3 separate regions of the Homo sapiens genome follow, and all the other regions are linked to region 3. The links are contacts of gene promoters, found by promoter capture Hi-C in blood cells and fetal thymus (Javierre and others, 2016). All regions are on one chromosome and are shown on one strand. The core of a region is centred on a gene start or on the middle of the fragment in contact, and the rest is flanking DNA. Distances in the headings are between cores, read along the strand shown. Region 1 overlaps NOSIP (nitric oxide synthase interacting protein). Region 2 overlaps LOC107985340 (a long non-coding RNA gene). Region 3 holds the start of KASH5 (KASH domain containing 5).

Region 1 (3,248 bases), core at 507-3,006, 180 kb before region 3:
CAATTTTCCTACCTATTAAATGAGCAAGACTGGGCGCGGTAGCTCATGCCTGTAATCCCAGCACTTTGGGAGGCCGAGGTAGTAGATCACCTGAGGTCAGGAGTTCAAGACCCAGCCTGGCCAACATGGTGAAACCCCGTCTCTACTAAAAATACAAAAAAAGTATCTAGGCATGGTGGTGTGTGCTTGTAATCCCAGCTACTTGGGAGGCTGAGGCAGGAGAATCACTTGAACCTGGGAGGTGGAGGTTGCAGTGAGTCAAGATCGTGCCACTGCACTCCAGTCCGGGTGACAGAGTGAGACTCCGTCTCCAAAAAAAAAAAAAAAAAAATACTTCAGTCCTGGTGACAGTGAGACTGTCTCCAAAATAAATACATACATACATACATACATACATAAAATAAAATAAATGGGCAGAACGTGGGGAGGTTGTCATGAGGACCGAATGTGTTCACATGTGGAAAGTGCTTCCCACAAGGTCTGATTCTTAAGGGGTTGAAGGATGTGATGATTACTTCTGTTCTTCCAGTGCTTCTGTGATTCACATGTTACTAATGAATTATTAGTGTATTAATGGCATGATGTCATGGCTGCATGGTTAGTTCATTGCTAACCCACCTCCCCTGGCCCTAGGATTGGAGGTGGTTCATTGATTCTATCATGACATCTCTGAGACCTCCCAGGTGCCAGGCAATGCTGGGACCCAGGCTGAAGTTCAACCCAGGCCCCACCAACCAGGGCCCCTACTCTGGAGCCGAAATACCGAGGGACGGGCTGTAACGGAGGTAGCTCAGGGCACGGTCAAGTGCAAGGAGAACCTAACTGATCCCGGAGAGGCAGGCTTCTTGGAGGAGGCAAACCTTGGCAGTGCTCTGGAGGAGAAAGGAGACAGGATTTCAGGGGAGGACAAGACACACACTAGCTGTCTGATCCACTCCCAGAGTTCAGCACAGTGCCTGAGGCCGCCTGCAGCCAGCTGGCACAGTGGATGGTCAAAGCCACAGGTGCTTGGATCAAACACAGCTGTAGGACTCACTAGCTGCATAACCTAGGGCACCGCCTCTGTGCCTCTCTTCATTTATAGCAACTATTTGAGGTGCTGTGATATTCAGTGGAGTGTTGTGATATTCGACCGTTTGAGGTGTTATGATATTCAGTAAAATGCTTAGAGCCAGGGTCTGCTTCAGAGCCGGGCTTTTTTTTTTTTTTTTTTTTTGAGACACAGTCTTGATCTGTTGGCCAGGCTGGAGTGCAGTGGCCCGATCTTGGCTCACTGCAACCTCTGCCCCCAGGTTCAAGCGATTCTCCTGCCTCAGCCTCCCGAGTAGCTGGGACTACAGGCACCTGCCACCACACCCAGCCAATTTTTGCATTTTTAGTAGAGACAGGGTTTCGCCACATTGGCCAGGCTGGTCTTGAACTCCTGACCTCAGGTGATCTGCCCGCCTTGGGCTCCCAAAGTGCTGGGATTACAGGCGTGAGCCACTGCTCCCAGCCATATATATATATATATTTTAAAGTATCTCCAATGAAAATTTAGCATCTGATGGCCAGGCCAATGTGGTGAAACCCCATCTGTGCTAAAAATACAAATATAAAAATACAAAAATGAGCTGGGCATGGTGGCACACGCCTGGAATTCCAGTTACTTGGGAGGCTGAGGCAGGAGAATGGCTTGAGCCCTGGAGGTGGAGGTTGCAGTGAGCCAAGATTGCACTATTTTGCACTCCAGACTGGGCAACAGAGCGAGACTCTGTCTCAAAAAAAAAAAAAAAAAAAAAAGGCTGGGTGCAGTGACTCATGCTTGTAATCCTAGCACTTTGGGAGGCTGAGGCGGGTGGATCACCTGAGGTCAGGAGTTCGAGACCAGCCTGCCCAACATGGCGAAACCCCATCTCTACTAAAAATACAAAAAATTAGCCAGGCATGGTGGCGGGTGCCTGTAATCCCAGCTACCTGGAAGGCTGAGGCAGGAGAATCACTTGAATCGGGGAGGTGAAGGTTGCAGTGAGCCGAGATCACACCACTGCACTCCACCCTAGGTGATAAAAGCGAAACTCCATCTCAAAAAAAAAAGAAAAAAAAAAGAAAATTTAGCATCTGAATTACTGAAATTACTGAGATGTGCTGAAAGAGTAAAATACATTCTGGATTTCAAAGGCTACAAATAAAGGAATGGATTGGCTTTTTTTTTTTTTTTTTTTTGAGACAGAGTCTCACTCTGTCGCCAGGCTGAAGTGCAGTGGTGCGATCTGGGCTCACTGCAACCTCCACCTCCTGGGTTCAAGCGATTCTTCTGCCTCAGCCTCCCGAGCAGCTGGGACCACAGGCGCGCACCAACACACCCAGCTAATTTTTGTATTTTTAGTAGAGATGGGGTTTCACCATGTTGGCCTGGATGGTCTCAACATCTTGACCTTGTGATCCACCCGTCTCAGCCTCCCAGAGTGCTGGCATTACAGGTTTAAGCCACCGTGGCCAGCCTGATTGGCCTTTTTTCTGAGATTGTGACTTTCCTAGGAAAACTGACAGTTGTCACCTAGTTAAAAGGAATGGCTCCAGAGCCTGGCTGCCTGGGTCTGAGTCCCAGCTCTGCCATTTCCCAGCTGGGACATGCTGTGAGCCTGTTTCCTGTGCTGTGAGGTAGGGATTATGCTGACATCGGTCGCTCCTGCTCTTTGCCTGTTTCCTCTCTGAAATGCTGGTGACAGCAGATGGCAGCAGTCTGCTTTGTAGTTTGAAATTGGACCTACCAAAGAGACAATATAGTGTGGGGCAGGAGAGCTCAGCTTTCAGAGTTTGTAAATCCTGAAACTGGCTATTCTTCCACCCTTGGTTGGAGGCGCTCACGCTTTCTGGTCTCAGGATCTTAAAAATCACTGAGTTTTAAAAATCAAAGAGTTTGCCGGGTGCAGTGGTTCATGCCCGTAATCCTTGCACTTTGGGAGGCTGAGGTGGGCGGATCACTTGAGATCAGGAGTTCAGAACTAGCCTGGCCAACATGGTGAAACCCTGTCTCTACTAAAAAATACAAAAAAAAAAAAAAAAAAATTAGCTGGGCGTGGGCGCCTGTTATCTCAGCTACTTGGGAGTCTGAGGCAGGAGAATTGCTTGAACCCAGGAGGTGGAGGTTGCAGTGAGCCGAGATCACACCACTGCACTCCAGCTTCGGCAACAGAGCAAGACTCCATCTCAAAAAAAACAAATTAAATTAAAAAAAGTTTAAATGCTCCCTCTATAGGTGTTCC
Region 2 (3,230 bases), core at 412-2,911, 140 kb after region 3:
CACCTGGCCAACATGGCAAAATCTCATCTCTACTAAAAATATAAAAATTAGCTAGGTGTGGTGGCATGTGCCTGTAATCCCAGCTACTCAGGAGGCTGAGGCAAGAGAATCGCTTGAAGCCAGGAGGTGGAGGCTGCGGTGACCCAGCCTGCACAACAGAGACTCTAAAACAAAAGGAGCACCATCATAGATCTTGATGACATCAAAATAATAATGGAATATTATGATCAAAATTATACCTATAAGTTCAACTTAAACACCTTGCAAGGTACAAATTACAAAGACTGATGCAAGTAGAAAATCTAAATAGCCCCATTTCTGAGTTTAAAAGTTAAATTTGGCCAGGCGCAGTGGCTTGTGCCTGTAATCACAGCACTTTGGGAGGTGGGTGGATCACTTCAGGTCAGGAGTTTGAGACCAGCCTGGCTAACATGATGAAACCCCATCTCTACTAAAAATATAAAAATTAGCCGGGCGTGGTGGCAGGCGCCTATAATCCCAGCTACTCGGGAGGCTGAGGCAGGAGAATAGCTTGAACCCAGGAGGCGGAGGTTGCAGTGAGCTAAGATCACGCCCTCCAGCCTGGGCGACAGAACGAGAGACTGTCTCAAAGTATATTAGCAAATTTAATCCACAAACAAAGTGGATACAGTATAAGCAAGTGGTTTTATCCCAGAAATTAATGTAACTTATTACATTAATAGATTAAAGGGAAGAACCATTTGACAAAATTCAACACCTATTATTGGAGGAAAAAAAACCTGCAACAAACTAGAAATACAACAGAACTTCCTCCATGTGCTGGGCAGAGATTCTCTACCTGAACATGATGGGGATTTTGCCCAGAAAATTCTTTGCTGGGGTGGGGAGAGGCTGTGCTGTGCATCCTAGAATGCTTGGCAGTGTTCCTAGCCTTCACCCTCAAGATGCCAGCATCAACGCTCCCCACTCAGCTGTTTGTGACAATGAAAAATGTCACATGACAGGCCAAGTGCAGTGGCTCACGCCTGTAATACCAGCACTTTGGGAGGCCGAGGTGGGCGGATCATGAGGTCAGGAGATCGAGACCATCCTGGCTAACATGGTGAAACCCTGTCTCTACTAAAAATACAAAAAATTAGCCAGGCGTGGTGGCGGGCGCCTGTAGTCCCAGCTACTCAGGAGGCTGAGGCAGGAGAATGGCGTGAACCCGGGAGGCGGAGTTTGCAGTGAGCCGAGATCACGCCACTGCACTCCAGCCTGAGTGATAGAGCGAGACTCAGTCTCAAAAAAAAAAAAAAAAAAAAAAAAAAAAAAGTCATATGACATTACCAAATGTCCCTGGAAGAGGTGGGAAATCACCCTCGGTTGAGAATCATTCATTGTGTTAAGGATATTAACAACAATGACAAAAGCTACAGCTAACATCATACTAAATGATGAAATACTGAATACTTTCCCCAATACTGAAAACAGGGAAGGGAAATCCCTTTACACCACTTCTGTTCAACACTATAGTGAAGTTCCTAGCCAGTGAAAGAAGGCAAGAAAAAGATATAAAAAGCATAGAAACTGGCTAGGAAGAAGTAAAACTGTCTTTATTCACAGATGTCATAAGCATGTAATTAGGAAATCCTAGGGAATCTACAAAAATAAAAAGCTACTAGAATAAGTGCACTTAGGAAAGTCACAAAAATAAAAGCCAATATACAAAAATAATCACATTTCTGCATACTAGCAACAAACCATAGTTAAGTGAAATTTTAAAAACAAAACCATTTACAATAGCCTCAAAAATCAAATGCTAAGACTATATTTAACAAAAGATATTCAAAAATCTCTATACTGAAAACTACAAGGTATTTTTGAGAGAAAAACCTAAATAAATGGAAATATTTGTTTATGAATTCAAAGAATTGGTGTAGGCCGGGCGTGGTGGCTCACGCCTGTAATCCCAGCACTTCGGGAGGCCGAGGTGGGTGGATTACTTGAGCTCAGCAGTTTGAGACCAGCCTGGCCAACATGGTGAAACCCTGTCTCTACTAAAAATACAAAAAAATTAGCTGGGCATGGTGGTACACACCTGTAATCCCAGCTACTCAGGAGGCTGAGGTAGGAGAATCGCTTGAGCCTGCGAGGCAGAGGCTGCAGTGAGCCGAGATCGCACCACTGCACTCCTGCATGGGTAACAGAGTAAGACTCTGTCTCAAAAAACAAGATATCAGTTCTCCCCAAATTGATCTACAGATTCAACACAATGGCAATTCAGATCTCAGCCAGGTTTGTTGAGGAATTGACAAGCTGATTCTAAAATGTACATGAAAATGCAAAGGACCGGCCGGGTGTAGTGGCTTATGCCGGTCATCCCAGCACTTTGGGAGGCCAAGGCAGGAGGATCACCTGAGGTCAGGAGTTTGAGACCAGCCTGGCCAACATGAGGAAACCCCATCTCTACTAAAAAATAATTAGCCAGGCGTGGTATCGGGTGCCTGTAATTTCACTTAGGAGGCTGAGGCAGGAGAATTGCTTGAACTCAGTAGGCAGGGAGGTTGCAATGACCTGAGATCACACCACTGCACTCCAGCCTGGGCAATGGAGCAAGACTCCATCTCAAAAAAAAAAAAAAAAAAAAAATGCAAAAGACCTAAAGTAGTCCAAACAATCTTGAGAAAGAACACGTTGGAGACTCATACTATCGAATTTCAAGATTTACTATAAAGCTACAGTAGTCAGGGCAGTGTTATATTAGCCTAAAGATAAACCAAAAGATCAATAGAACAGAACAGAAATCCACCTATACACATATGACCAATTGATGTTCAGTAAAGATATCACAGCAATTCAATGGGTAAGGGAAAGTCTTTTTAACAAACAGGGCTAGAACTACTGTATAGCCATATAGAAAAATATAAACATATTCCTGCCACATACCATACCCCCACCCCAAATTAACAGGAACCAAAGACCTAAATTCAAAAGCCAAAACTAGAAACTTCCGGAAGAAAACATAGAATATCTTTATGACCTCGGGCTTAGCAAAGATGTTCTATATTAAATGTAACAGGCCAGACACAAATGTCTATGTATTGTGTGAATCTATTATCTATGAAACCCAAGAACAGGTCAGACTTATATGTAGTGATGGAAATCAGTCATTGCTTCTGGGGTGAAGAGAAAGGAACCCAAAGTAACTCTCTGGAGTGACGGAAATTGGGGCATTGGTGACAGGGGTCATTTGTCAAAACTCATTA
Region 3 (3,336 bases), core at 550-3,049:
AGGCTAGAGTGGCATTGAGTAGTCTCTGAAGCTCCTGCCTCTTCCTGTCCCTTTTCTCTCCGTCGGGCAACCCCTAGGTCTCTCCTCATCATGGCCCCAAACCTGCTGCTCCCCTGGGTTCCAACTCAGGATGTACATGGTCCCCCAAGCCCAGGCCACCTCCTCCTCATCCCTGCCAGCCCCACTTGCAGCTGCTCTGGGCAGTCCCTGCAGCAGTGACAGGAGTTTGGGGGGCCCCATCCTGCCTCCATTCCACCCAGGCCGACCCAAAACCTTAGTGGCCGCACTCTGGGGGCTAGAGAGAGACCTGGGCGCTGCTATCATCACAGCGGGCACGGGCGCCCCTTGGGGCCACCAGTCGAGCCTGGGCTCGCCTGTCCTCACCCAGCTCCCCCAGTGCCTGCTCTCCCCAAGCCACGTGAGCCCGCTGCCACCGTTCTGGAAACACGGGTCTTTGAAGAGAGGCCCTTCCAGGGTCTGGAACACCCTGCAGGGTGCAAAGGGGGGCGATGGCCTTGGCTGGGCCCTGGCGCACGGAGTGGGTTCGGGATGGAGTCCTGAGGGACCCCGGGGGTGTTGGTTGATCTCGGGGGTCTGACGGGACTGAGACGGGGACACTGAAGCAGGATGGGGCCCTGGCAGGAGCTCTGGGTGGTGTGGGCCTTGGCGGGCTTTCAAGGGCTCTGACAGGATTTTGGGGGGGTCTCTGACTGGATTTCTGGGGAGTGTCTGGCTGGATTTTGGAGATTTTGATTTCTGTGGGGGTCTCTGACTGGATTTCAGGGGTCTCTGGCTGGATTTCGGGGGTCTTGATTTCTGCGGGGGTCTGATTGGATTTCTGGGGGTTCTCTGACTGGATTTTGGGGGTCTTGATTTATTCGGGGTCTCTGGATTTTGGGGGTCTTGATTTATGCGGGGGTCTCTGGATTTCTGGGGGTCTCTGGCTGGATTTTGGGGGTCTTGATTTCTGCAGGGGTCTGACTGGATTTCTGGGGGTCTCTGGCTGGATTTGGAGGGTCTTGATTTCTGCGGGGGTCTCTGAGTGCATTTCGGGGTCTCCGTTTCTGGGGTGTCTTTGATGGACTTCTGTGCTCTCTGACGGAATCTGAGGTCCGACTGGGTTTGGGAGGGGACCTGCCAGGATTTCTGGGGATCTCTGACACGAGTCTAGGTGGCTCTGCTGATCTGGGGAGAGTAATAGGATTTTGGGGAAAGTTTCTGGCAGGCTCTGAGGGAGAAGTCTGACAATTTCTAGACGATTCTGACAGGATTTCGGGGGTCAACTATAAGATTTCCTGGTGGACTCCTTTCAGTATATCTGAGGGGATGTGGTCAGGATTTTTTTTTTTTTTTTTGAGACGGAGTCTCACTCTTGTCACCCAGGCTGGAGTGCAGTGGCGCGATCTCAGCTCACTGCAACCTCTGCCTTCCAGGTTCAAGCAGTTCTCCTGCCCCAGCCTCCTGAGTAGCTGGGATTATAGGCGCGTGCCACTACGCCTGGCTAATTTTTTGTATTTTTAGTAGAGACGGGGTTTCACTTCCCCGGGATGGTCTCTATCTTCTGACCTCGTGATCCGCCCGCCTCGGCCTCCCAAGTGGTCAGGATCTGGGGGGCCCTGACGCAGGGGTATCTCTCCCACAATATGGGGGGGCTTCGCTAGGATTTCGGTAGGGGCTGGGAAGGGCCATTCTGGGAACCTCGCCGCGGGGCAGGGCGCACCTGGAGCCACGTCCTAGTCTCGGGACACAACGGACATCCACGAACGACGAACGGCAGTTGAGTTGGGGGAGGTGCGCGTGAGCTTTTCCCGCCAGAAAAAGCAAAAGGAGGCGAGGGGTCGCGAGTGCGCGTGCGCAGCGTCTGAGCCCCGCCCCTCCCCGCCCGGACTCCTCTTAAGACGCAGGTGCAAACCGGCGGCCGACGCGTGTCACGCATGCGCGCTGGCGGTGTGGGCTGTGGCCACGGAGTTTGTCTGGTGGTGGAAGGAGGGGGTGGCTGCGCCCGCCATGCTGGGGCTCGTGTTTTTCTCTTCCGCTTCAGGCTTTGGTGAAATGGGCTGAGGAAGGGGGAATTGAACTGAGAGACTCCTTGTCCGTCCCCCATTTCTTTCTTTTTTTTTTTTTTTTGAGATGGAGTCTCGCTCTGTCGCCCAGGCTGGAGTGCAGTGGGACAATTTTAGCTCACTGCAACCTCCGCCTCCCGGGTTCAAGCAATTCTCCTGCCTCAGCCTCCCGAGTAGCTGGGATTACATGCGCCCGCCACCACACCTGGCTAATTTTTGTATTTTTAGTAGAGACGGGGTTTCACCACGTTGGCCAGGCCGGTACCGAACTCCCAACCTCAGGCGATCCACCCGCCTCGGCCTCCCAAAGTGCTGGGATTACAGGCGTGAGACACAGCGCCTGGCCTGTCCTTTTTATGTATTGCCATATTTTCTTTTCTTTTCTTTTCTGTGAGATCCCTGTTGAGTTTTGTTAACAAGGCTATGCTGATATAATGTGTGGAGAAGTGTTCTCTCTTTTTCTATTCTTTGAAAGTGCTAGTGTAGGATTGATGTTATTTATTTTTTATGTGTTTGGAAGAAGTCACCAGCCATCTGGACCTAGAGTTTTCTTTGTGGAAAGACTTTAAATTACAAATTCTATTTCTTTTATAAAAATACAACTATTCAGATGTTCTATTTTATTTCTGGTAAGTTGTGGTTTTGGTAAGTTGTGGTTTTCAAGGAATTTTTCCATTTTATCTAAAATTTCAAATAATTTGCATAAAGTTCATAATATTGTCTTTTTTTGGAGGGGGAGAAACACGGTCTTATGTTAGGCTGGTCTCGAACTCCTGCCCTCAAATGATCCTCCTACCTTGGCCTCCCAAAGTGCTGGGGTTACTGGCATGAGCCACCATGCCCAATCTTTTTAATATCTGTAAGATCTGTGGTGACGGATATTAATAATTTGTGCCATCTCTCTTTTCCCCCCTCCCTTCCCCTCTGCTCCTCTCCTCCCCTTCCCCCACTCCCCTCCCCTCATCTCCCCTCCCCCGTACCTTCCCCTCCCCTCCCGCCTCCCTTCCCTTCTGCTCCTGTCCTCCCCTTCCCCCACTCCCCTCCCCTCATCTCCCCTCCCCCGTACCTTCCCCTCCCCTCCCCCTCTCTTCCCCTCTGCTCCTCTCCTCCCCCCACTTTCCTCCCCTCATCTCCCCTCCCACCTCCCTTCCCCTCCCCCTCCCTTTATCTCCCCTCCCTTCCCCTCCCTTCCCCCTCCCTTCCCCTCCCTTCCCCTCCCTTCCCCTCCCTTCCCCTCCGCGTCCACTGCCTCCCCTCCTCCCTCCCCTTCCTC

What was found. Contacts are between HindIII fragments. The CHiCAGO score rates a contact against its expected background, and 5 or more counts as called.
Region 1: a contact is called between a fragment that was not itself captured here and the fragment with the promoter of KASH5 in region 3, in 5 of 17 cell types (naive CD8 T cells, total CD8 T cells, total CD4 T cells and 2 more). The highest score is 9.7, in naive CD8 T cells.
Region 2: a contact is called between a fragment that was not itself captured here and the fragment with the promoter of KASH5 in region 3, in 2 of 17 cell types (naive B cells and total B cells). The highest score is 8.8, in naive B cells.

The regions. Positions count from the first base shown.
Region 1 is chr19:49,570,941-49,574,188 of GRCh38, reverse strand. The region is part of intron 1 of NOSIP (nitric oxide synthase interacting protein); the gene reads left to right. Among named protein-coding and RNA genes, the nearest start is that of NOSIP, 8.0 kb to the left of the region's middle. The HindIII fragment of the contact is 3,513 bases long and covers 1-3,248 here.
Region 2 is chr19:49,246,095-49,249,324 of GRCh38, reverse strand. The region is part of intron 2 of LOC107985340 (a long non-coding RNA gene); the gene reads right to left. Among named protein-coding and RNA genes, the nearest start is that of MIR4324, 61 kb to the left of the region's middle. The HindIII fragment of the contact is 8,311 bases long and covers 1-3,230 here.
Region 3 is chr19:49,386,712-49,390,047 of GRCh38, reverse strand. It overlaps KASH5 (KASH domain containing 5), which reads right to left and starts at 1,799. Exons shown (of 20, transcript NM_144688.5): 1 at 1,721-1,799. LOC101928295 (a long non-coding RNA gene) reads left to right here and starts at 1,967. Exons shown (of 3, transcript NR_110729.1): 1 at 1,967-2,692. The HindIII fragment of the contact is 10,613 bases long and covers 1-3,336 here.